Regions from separate parts of the Homo sapiens genome. Here all the other regions are linked to region 3. Evidence: promoter capture Hi-C in human tissues and cell types (Jung and others, 2019). All regions are on one chromosome and are shown on one strand. Each heading gives the region's core, a stretch centred on a gene start or on the middle of the fragment in contact. The rest is flanking DNA. Distances are from core to core; before and after follow the strand shown. Region 1 overlaps EHMT1 (euchromatic histone lysine methyltransferase 1). Region 2 overlaps CACNA1B (calcium voltage-gated channel subunit alpha1 B). Region 3 holds the start of CACNA1B (calcium voltage-gated channel subunit alpha1 B).

Region 1 (2,700 bases), core at 45-2,544, 120 kb after region 3:
GGTAACCAGTCTTTTCATTCAAGCCACATGCTCCACCTAGATCTTAGACAGACAGGAAAAGTCAACCACCTTTGAGAAATCACCATCATCAACTTGAAGAACAGGAGTACACTTTGTATAGTTTTAAACGAAAAGAAGATTTAAATAAAAAATTCATAAAGAAATAAAATTCAAACTCCTCTGTGAATATTTAAAAGCACACATTTTGCACATTACAGCCAAGATGACAAAGATGAAATCTCTACCCCAAAAACAACTTTTAGTCTTGGCTCTAAAATGCTTTTGTTGGCCAACAGTAAAAGCCACATCTGGTGTTATGATCTGAATCAATAAACTGAGGTGAAGAGAAACGTAACTGAAGCACCACATGCAGCTCCCGGGGGGCTCACACGTCCTCCACCCTCAAACGCCAGGAGCCTCCATGGTGACTGCCTCACGCCCCAGGTCTCCCGCAACCCTCTCTTTTCAGGGGATGACGCCTCCCCAACATCCAGTTAACAGAGGTACTCTACATTGGGGAATCTAGATTAGCCAAAATCACTGTGAATAAGAACAAAGTGCTGCCACTCGGTGACACTGGTATAAGGATAAACAAATAAATAAATGAAACAGACCAGAATGTCCAGGAACAGCCCACACACTGAATGTCAACAGGTGGAGAAAAATCAACTCAAGCAGCAGTGCCTATGGCAGCTGCACACCCACTGCCAAGAAGGGGCCTGCGCCACAGCTCACTCAAACATCAGTGCAAAATGAACCGACAGGCAAGCGCGGAGCCTGCAGATGCCAAGAAGAAAACAAGGGACAAAACCTCTGTGACCTGGGTCTGTCAAAGATTTCTTAGAGCACAAAAGCATGAACCCCCCAAGTAAAATAACTCGTAACTTGGACTTCAAGAAAACCTTAAAAACGTTTGCTCTTCTAAATACAGCATTAGGAAAATGAAAAGGCAGGTCAGAGACTAGGTACAAATACATGCAAAACATCCACCTGATAAAAGACTTGTCTCCAGAATATGTTAAAAACTCTTTTAACCCAATGAGAAGAAAAACAACCAGATTTTAAAAGTGAGCAAAAGATGTGAACAGACACGTTTCAAAAAAACTAAATGAAGGCTAAAATGTACAATCTCATTACTCATTAGGTAACAGCATTGAAACTACAGTAAAACACCACTGCACACCCACAGATCCACTGGAATTAAAAAGACTAACCCTAACAAGTGCTGGCGTGGACAGAGGGGAACTGGAATGCTTGTGTGTTGTCTGGACCTAAAACAGGACGAGTGCTTGGAAAACAGCTTGGCAGCTTCCTGAAGAGCTGAACACACGCCACTCTACTCAGCCATTCCACTCCCAGATACCTAACCAAGATCTAGGGAAGCACCTGTTCAAAAAAGATTTGCACACAAATGTTCACGGCCACTTAATTTCTAGCAGCCAAGGCTGGAAAGAGCCCAAAGCCCATGGACGGATGAATGGACAGATAAGACTGTGGGGCAGCCACACAATGGGACACTTCTCAGCAATGGACAGAAACAAACTCCTGGCCATTCGACAGCCTGGCAACTCAAAACAATTATACTCAGAGAAGCCAGATGAAAAACAACCACACAGTTCCATCTATATAAAATTCTACAGAACACTAACCAATACATGGAAACAGAGCAGACCAGGGGCTGCCTGGGAGCAGGGAAGGGAGGCAGGGAAGGGGCCAGGTTATCAAAGGGCAGGAGGGACCCGGGGTGACAGAGGAGCTCATGGCACTGATCATCTGACTGTGGTGATGGATTCAAGGTCATAAGCATGTTAAAACTTGTCAAATTGTGTAATTTATTTCTGTGCATTTTATTGGATGCCAGGTGCACCTCGGTTAAGCTGGAAACAAAAACGGCCCTTGGCACCCTAAACCTGCTGCATCCCTTCTGGGTTTGAGGAGATTTCCTTCCTACATTCACGTTGTGATTCACAAAGTTCCTCTGGAACAGGGGACTCTGACCGAGGCACAGGTGCCTCACTGAGGGGCCGCTTCCTGCACACAACGTGGGAGCTGCCCATGCAGGCCACAGGTTCCAGTCACCCATGCGGGCAGCAAATGATTCACCTCGGTTCAACATTCAACAATGAAGTTGGGGCCGGGCGCAGTGGCTCACACCTGTAATCCCAGCACTTTGGGAGGCCAAAACGGGCAGATCGCTTGAGCTCAGGAGTTCGAGACCAGCCTGGCCAACATAGCAAAACCCCATCTCTACCAAAAAAACACAAAAAAATAAGCTGGGCATGATGGCACACGCCTATAGTCCCAGCTTCTTGGGGAGATGAGGTAGGATGATCGCCTGAGCCCAGAAGGTGGAAGCTGCAGTGAGCTGAGATCGTGCCACTGCGCTCCAGCCTGGGTAACAGAACCAGATCCTGTCTCAAAAAAAAAAAATTAAATTAAAAACAACAACAGTGAAGTCAACGTCCACTACATTGGCCAGAAGGAAACTACTTTAGAATCACTTGAGTTTCTCTAACAAAGTCATTTCAAACATTTTTTTTAAACAGTGATGCCCTCTTTTCTAATGAAATCCTACGCACCCCAACCCCAGGTGGGCCTCCTGGCACCATCCCCTCCCAGGCAGTCCCCGTGATGGCCCACACCCCCACGGCATTTACCGAGGGCACCGCTGGGCTTCTTTCTACTTCTCCGCCTCCTTTT
Region 2 (2,700 bases), core at 43-2,542, 93 kb before region 3:
GCTGTGACAGACCAGGCCTGGAGGGGCCCATCCTGGCCCCTGTGCTGAGGCTTGTGGAACAGAACTGCAAACAGCTCACTCCACGGAAGGGCATGAATGCATCCAGATTTAGCCAATTGTAAAGAAAAATGAAGGTAACCAGGGGAACCTGGGGAGGGTAAGAAGCCAGGACTCCCCCCTCAGGAACCCGGGGCAGAATCAGCAGCCACGTGGTGGAAAGGAGCGTGGGGCTAAGTCCCCTGTCTGTGGGTCTGAAGCCCTCTCAGGGGAGGACACCCATCTGCCTGGCCTGACTCGCCCCTGGTCGTCCCACATATATCCTGCCCTGGGTGCCTCGGACCCCTCAACCAGTCTCACACTATGCTGAGGGACAGGGGTCTAGCAGATCCAGCTGTGCTTTCTGGAACCCAGGGGCTGGAGAGGCCACCCTCCAGCTCTGGACACACCCCAGGCCCCCACAGAGGCTCCTGGAGGCTGACTAGGGCTGTGGGATACTTTGAGCAACATGGGGGTGGGTCCCGTCCCACCTGGGGTAGCCCCAGGGCATGGACCAGGGTTTCCAGACTGAGAGCAGAGATGCTCAGGAAGCACCTGAGGGAGGGACGGGGATACGTACACAGGGTCGTGGTAAGCCGCCGCGGCTGGTTGTAATGCACCATGGCCACACACAGTGTGTTCAGGGCCACCACGCACAGCACCACCCAGTAGAAGCTCTGAGCCTTCACCATGCGCCGGATAAAAAACCGGAACATCTTCTCCTTCCTCCGGAAGTATGACGAGCTCTCTGTCTTCCCGCTCTTGAGGCTGGCGCGGGCGAAGGGGGATCCTGAGGGGATGGGGAGTTACTGAGGATGTGGGGACCAATGGGCACCCGCCTACCCCACCTGTGGACCCCCACAGACGCACTCTGGAGGACACCTGCCCCCAGCCCCAGCCGGTCACAGACAATTGTGCCAGTGACCCCTGTGACCTCCACTTCACAGCTGAGGGAACCAAGGCCCTGATGATCTCCATGGTTACTGGGTGCCAGATGTGAGAGCCAGATTGAAGTGGATGATCTGTACTCACTTCTCTGGTCCCCAGCATCCCCAGCCACCTTCTAGGAGCACAGCCCTGATGCCCCCAGGCCACTCTCCATGAGCACCCCAAGCTTTTTCCCCTGAAGACATAAATCTGAGTTAGTCCCTCCCCAGATCCCATCTCTTCAGCATAGCCCACAGAGCCCTGCAGCATCTGGCCCTCCCTCTCTCGCCCTCCGGACTCAGGGGTCAGCACGCATGGGCTGCCTGTTTTCTAAGCAGTTTTCCTGGAACACAGCCAAGCTCATCGGTTTACGCATGGTCCATGGCTGTTCAATGTCCACAATACTTACTGTTGGAAACTTTGTCTACCTGCTCCAGCCTGACTGCTTCTCTACCCTGCTCACCACCCAACCCAGCAGCCTTTTCCCATGTCCACGCACACCAGTCCTGCTGTGCCCTGGCCCTTCACACAATATCCCAAGTGTGAAATGCGTCCCTCACTGGACTCCTTCCCACACACTTTCAAGTCTCAGCATTAACGTCACCTGCACAGAGCACCTGCTCTGGGCACACCATTTAGAACAGGGCCCTCGGCTCACCTCCGACAGTGGCCCTGACCACATCACCACCTGTCACTGTGTTTTATTGTTGACCTGTTCCATGCCCAACTCCCAGACAAGACTGTAGGCTCCATGAGGACAGGGCCACATTGTCTTCTTCACCACTGAGCCCCTCACACTGAGAGGGGCTTGATCAATGCTTAACAACTGAGGGAAGGGTCTCTATGAGGATTCAGGTGTGTCTGTACAGGAGCTGGCTGTGTCTCTGCAGGAGAGCACATCTGCCTGTGTAAGGGTTTCTTAGTTTGTGCACTAAGCCTGGCCATGTGGGTGCCTCTCAGTGTTCTCAGAGAGCAGACAGCTGTGCCCCAGCCATGGGTCTCTCAGTGGGCTTTGAATACCTGGGCTTGAGCATGGGGTCCCTGTGTGAGGATGTGGGGAGCAGTGTATGCTACATGTACTTTCTGTGTGTTTGTACACACATGCATATGTGTGCACACCCAGGTTCTCAGTGGCACAAAAGAGCAGGGGCAGTGTGGGCATGTGTGCTATGCATATTTTCTGTTTGTACACACATGCATATGTGTGCACACCCAGGCTCTCAGTGGCTCTCATAGCTCGTGTGCTATGTGCATTTTCTGTGTGTTTGTACACATGTGTGTACATGTGCACACCCAGGCTCTCAGTGGCATGTGGCCAGCCCTGCTGAAGGCCAGGGATGACCACTCCCCACAGAGGCAGCAGTAGGGCAGGAGGGAGGCAGGTGTGCAATGCAGATAAGGAGGGGCACACACACAGGCAGAGCTGTGCACAGAACAAGCCCACACACTCTGAACCCCCCATGCACCCACACACAGTTGTGCAGGAACACAGGAGTCACACACGCACATGCTTCACAGCACACATCCAGCCTGACCACGCTCACTTTTGAAGATCCAATGAGATGCTCACACAGACACACTCCTCAGTGCACATGAGGCACACACCTGTGGACACAAACAGGGCCACTCTGGGAAGGAGGGAAAGAGAACACGTGACTCATGTAAACCCACTGTGTCTGCACACACACGTGGCCAGGAAGACAAGCAACAAATTCTCCAAAGGGGACTCTGTGGCCA
Region 3 (2,700 bases), core at 64-2,563:
AGTTGGCGATGATGGTGGCCAGGATCATATACTCGAATGGAGTGCGTGAGTTAAGGACTGGCCGGCAGACGCCGCACGGAGGGAAACACGAGGCCGACGCCAGCAGAGCCCAGTGCAGCAGCCACCGCTAGGCCGTCTCCGGAGGGGCTGAGACAACTGGGTCCGGAGCCCCTCTCCTGGCGGAAGCGGCCTGGTCTCCCTCACTCCCTGCCCCCATCCCTAGGGGCGGCCGCGAGGCGGGGCCTCCGCAGTCTGGGCCGCCAGCCCCTCGGCACACCCGGGCGGCCGTCAGCACCGCGGACAGCGCCTCCGGCCCGGCTCCGCCCGACTCCAGGGCCCCGAGGGGAGGGGGCCGAGCGCCCCCAGGCGAGGCTGGAGGGAGACCCCGCGCAGGCGCACGCTGCTCCCTCCAGACACGCAGCCACATGTACCTACACAGGCACGTGAACATGCATGTAGCCCGCATCGCGAGCGCACGCACGCGCAGCGCCAGGCTCCAGCTCAGCCCGCACACGCAGGCACCTGCAGCCAGGCGCGCGCACGGCCGCGTCCCCACAGCGCTCGCACCTGCACGGACGCGGCTTCGCCCTCGGTGCCCTCCAGGCTAGCCGCGCACTGTGCACCGACCAGGATCCCCAGGACCCGGCGTGCGGAGGGACGAGTCCGGAGCAGAGGGGCTCCGCCCCGCGCCCGCCGCACTCACGGAAATGCTCCCGCACCCGCCGCTCCGAGGGGCCCTGGGGCGCTCCGTACCCCCCTCGCCCGTCTCCCGACGCCTCCCCAGGTCGCGCCCTCCCGGCCACCGGGAAGATGGCCCCGGCCCCGGCCCCCACCCCGGTCCCCGCCCGGCCCCGCCCGGCCCCGCCCGGCAGGATATGGCCACTCGGTGATGCGCTTCGCGTATTTGCGGACGACGTTGTCCTCGCTGAAGACGAAGAGCGAGCGGTTGACGGTGAAGCAGTTCTGCTTGACCGGGATGGGGTTGTACAGCGCCATGGTCCGCGCGCGCTGCGCGATCGATTGCTTGTAGAGGACCCGCTGGCCGGGCTGCAGCCCCCCGGGACCCGGGCCCCCCGCCCCGCCGGCCCCGCCGCCCCGGGCCCGCTCTCCGCCGCCGGGGCCCCCATAGCGGCCGCCCAGCTCGTCCCCGAAGCGGACCATGGCTCCCGGGCCCCGCGTGCATCCCCGGCCCAGCGGCCCCGGCAGGGAGGGCGCGGGGCGCGCCAGGCGCTCAGAGCGGAGCAGCCACGGAGCCGCCGGGACCGCAGCGGACCTCGCCCGGCCCCACCGCCGCAGCCGCCGCCGCCTCACCCGACTCCGCGGCCCCGCGCCACGCCCTATAAGGGGCCGGTCACGTGGCGGGGCCCGGCCAATCCGCGCCGGCCCCGCCCACCCTGCCGCGCCGGCCCCGCCCCGCGGCCGCCCCCGCCCCGCCCCGGCCCCTCCGGCTGCGCCTCCCTCGCCCCGCGCCTCCCACCCCGGGGCTGGGCCGGGCCCAGGAGCGGACGAGCCTGTGGGTCCTCGACGGCCGCTCAGCGCCAGCCCGGGCCGTCCCCGGAGCCCACTCTGCCGGCCGCACCGCCCCTGGGTGCCCTCGGCTCCTCAAACTCGGCCCAGACGGACCCCTCGCTCCGCCCGGAGGCGCCACCAGCCCTGGGGCTGCAGCCCAGAGCTGGGCGCCAGGCCTGGGCCGGCCCGCCCCGTCCCCGCCGGGTCCCCGGCCTTCCCAACCCTCCGGGTGCGCTCGGCTCGCGGCCTTGGTGCCACGCGGACGCTTCTGTCGGGGGCCCCCAGCCCGGGTGCGGGACCTGCTGTTTCCACGCACGGGGCTGGCTCCGGGATCTCAGCTCAGAGAAGCCTCTGACCGCCTTGCAGGCCACGCCCCGTTAGGGAACCTGTCACGGTCACTGCCATTCCCCAGGCCTCCTTGAGCGCCCACCGCGGGCCGGGCCTGTCCTGGGCTCCCAGCTCTGCCCTCACGGAGCTGACCGTTTTGTACAAAGCACAGCAACCATTTACACAGCGCTCACTTCGTGCAGGCCCGTGGGTCCTCACAACCTCCAAAAAGGCGGCCCCGGGGTCGGGGAGACCTTCGGGAACAAGGGACCCTCTCGGACCTGAAGCTCGCTCGCAAGGCGCTGAGTGCAGAGTGAGGCCGGGTGCGGGCTGCGCCTTCTGAGAGGGAGGCAGTCCGCACAGTTCCGAGCAGAGGCGCGTAGGCCTCTGAAGGGTCCCTCGGGCTGCCGTGTGGAGTGTGGACTGCAGGAGGCTGGGGTGCTGAATCACTTAGGATGCATTCAGAGGCGAACAACCCGCTTCCCAGCTAGCAGCAGCTTGCACGATGCCATTGTGATCTCACTGAATACGAAGCCACCATCTCTCCTCCCTCCAAAATCCCCACATACACTTTCTGCCTTCCTGCCTGTTGCCTCATGCCCCAGGGTGGCTGTCATAGCACAGGGCATCACACCGCTACACCAGCATCTCAAACGGGAAGGAAGTGGCAGGTGTACAAAGGATGACCACTTTGTGAATCAGGTTACGATTTTCTTTTCTAACAAAGGAAAAGCTTCTCAGAGGCTCCCCCTGCAAGTGTCTCTTTAACCCCGTTAGGCCATGGGCCATGTGGCCGGCCCTGACTTTAACAGGGTGGGAAAGTGAACATGTGTCAAAGTGGACCAGGATGGCCAGCCCCCACTA

What was found. The method cuts DNA at HindIII sites, captures the fragments that hold promoters and counts their contacts. A contact is called where the count stands out against the background at its distance.
Region 1: a fragment that was not itself captured here is called in contact with the fragment with the promoter of CACNA1B in region 3 in 2 of the 25 tissues and cell types used here (dorsolateral prefrontal cortex and lymphoblastoid cells).
Region 2: a fragment that was not itself captured here is called in contact with the fragment with the promoter of CACNA1B in region 3 in 4 of the 25 tissues and cell types used here (H1 embryonic stem cells, IMR-90 fibroblasts, dorsolateral prefrontal cortex and 1 more).

What each region holds. Positions count from the first base shown.
Region 1 is chr9:137,754,249-137,756,948 of GRCh38, reverse strand. EHMT1 (euchromatic histone lysine methyltransferase 1) reads right to left here. Exons shown (of 27, transcript NM_024757.5): 8 at 2,658-2,700. Among named protein-coding and RNA genes, the nearest start is that of MIR602, 83 kb to the left of the region's middle. The HindIII fragment of the contact is 7,617 bases long and covers 1-2,700 here.
Region 2 is chr9:137,969,509-137,972,208 of GRCh38, reverse strand. CACNA1B (calcium voltage-gated channel subunit alpha1 B) reads right to left here. Exons shown (of 47, transcript NM_000718.4): 11 at 617-826. Among named protein-coding and RNA genes, the nearest start is that of CACNA1B-AS1, 24 kb to the right of the region's middle. The HindIII fragment of the contact is 7,856 bases long and covers 1-2,700 here.
Region 3 is chr9:137,876,395-137,879,094 of GRCh38, reverse strand. It overlaps CACNA1B (calcium voltage-gated channel subunit alpha1 B), which reads right to left and starts at 1,313. Exons shown (of 47, transcript NM_000718.4): 1 at 878-1,313; 2 at 1-41. The coding sequence starts at 1,161. All of the region lies in intron 2 of CACNA1B-AS2 (CACNA1B antisense RNA 2), which reads left to right. RefSeq lists an enhancer at 205-1,120. The HindIII fragment of the contact is 23,600 bases long and covers 1-2,700 here.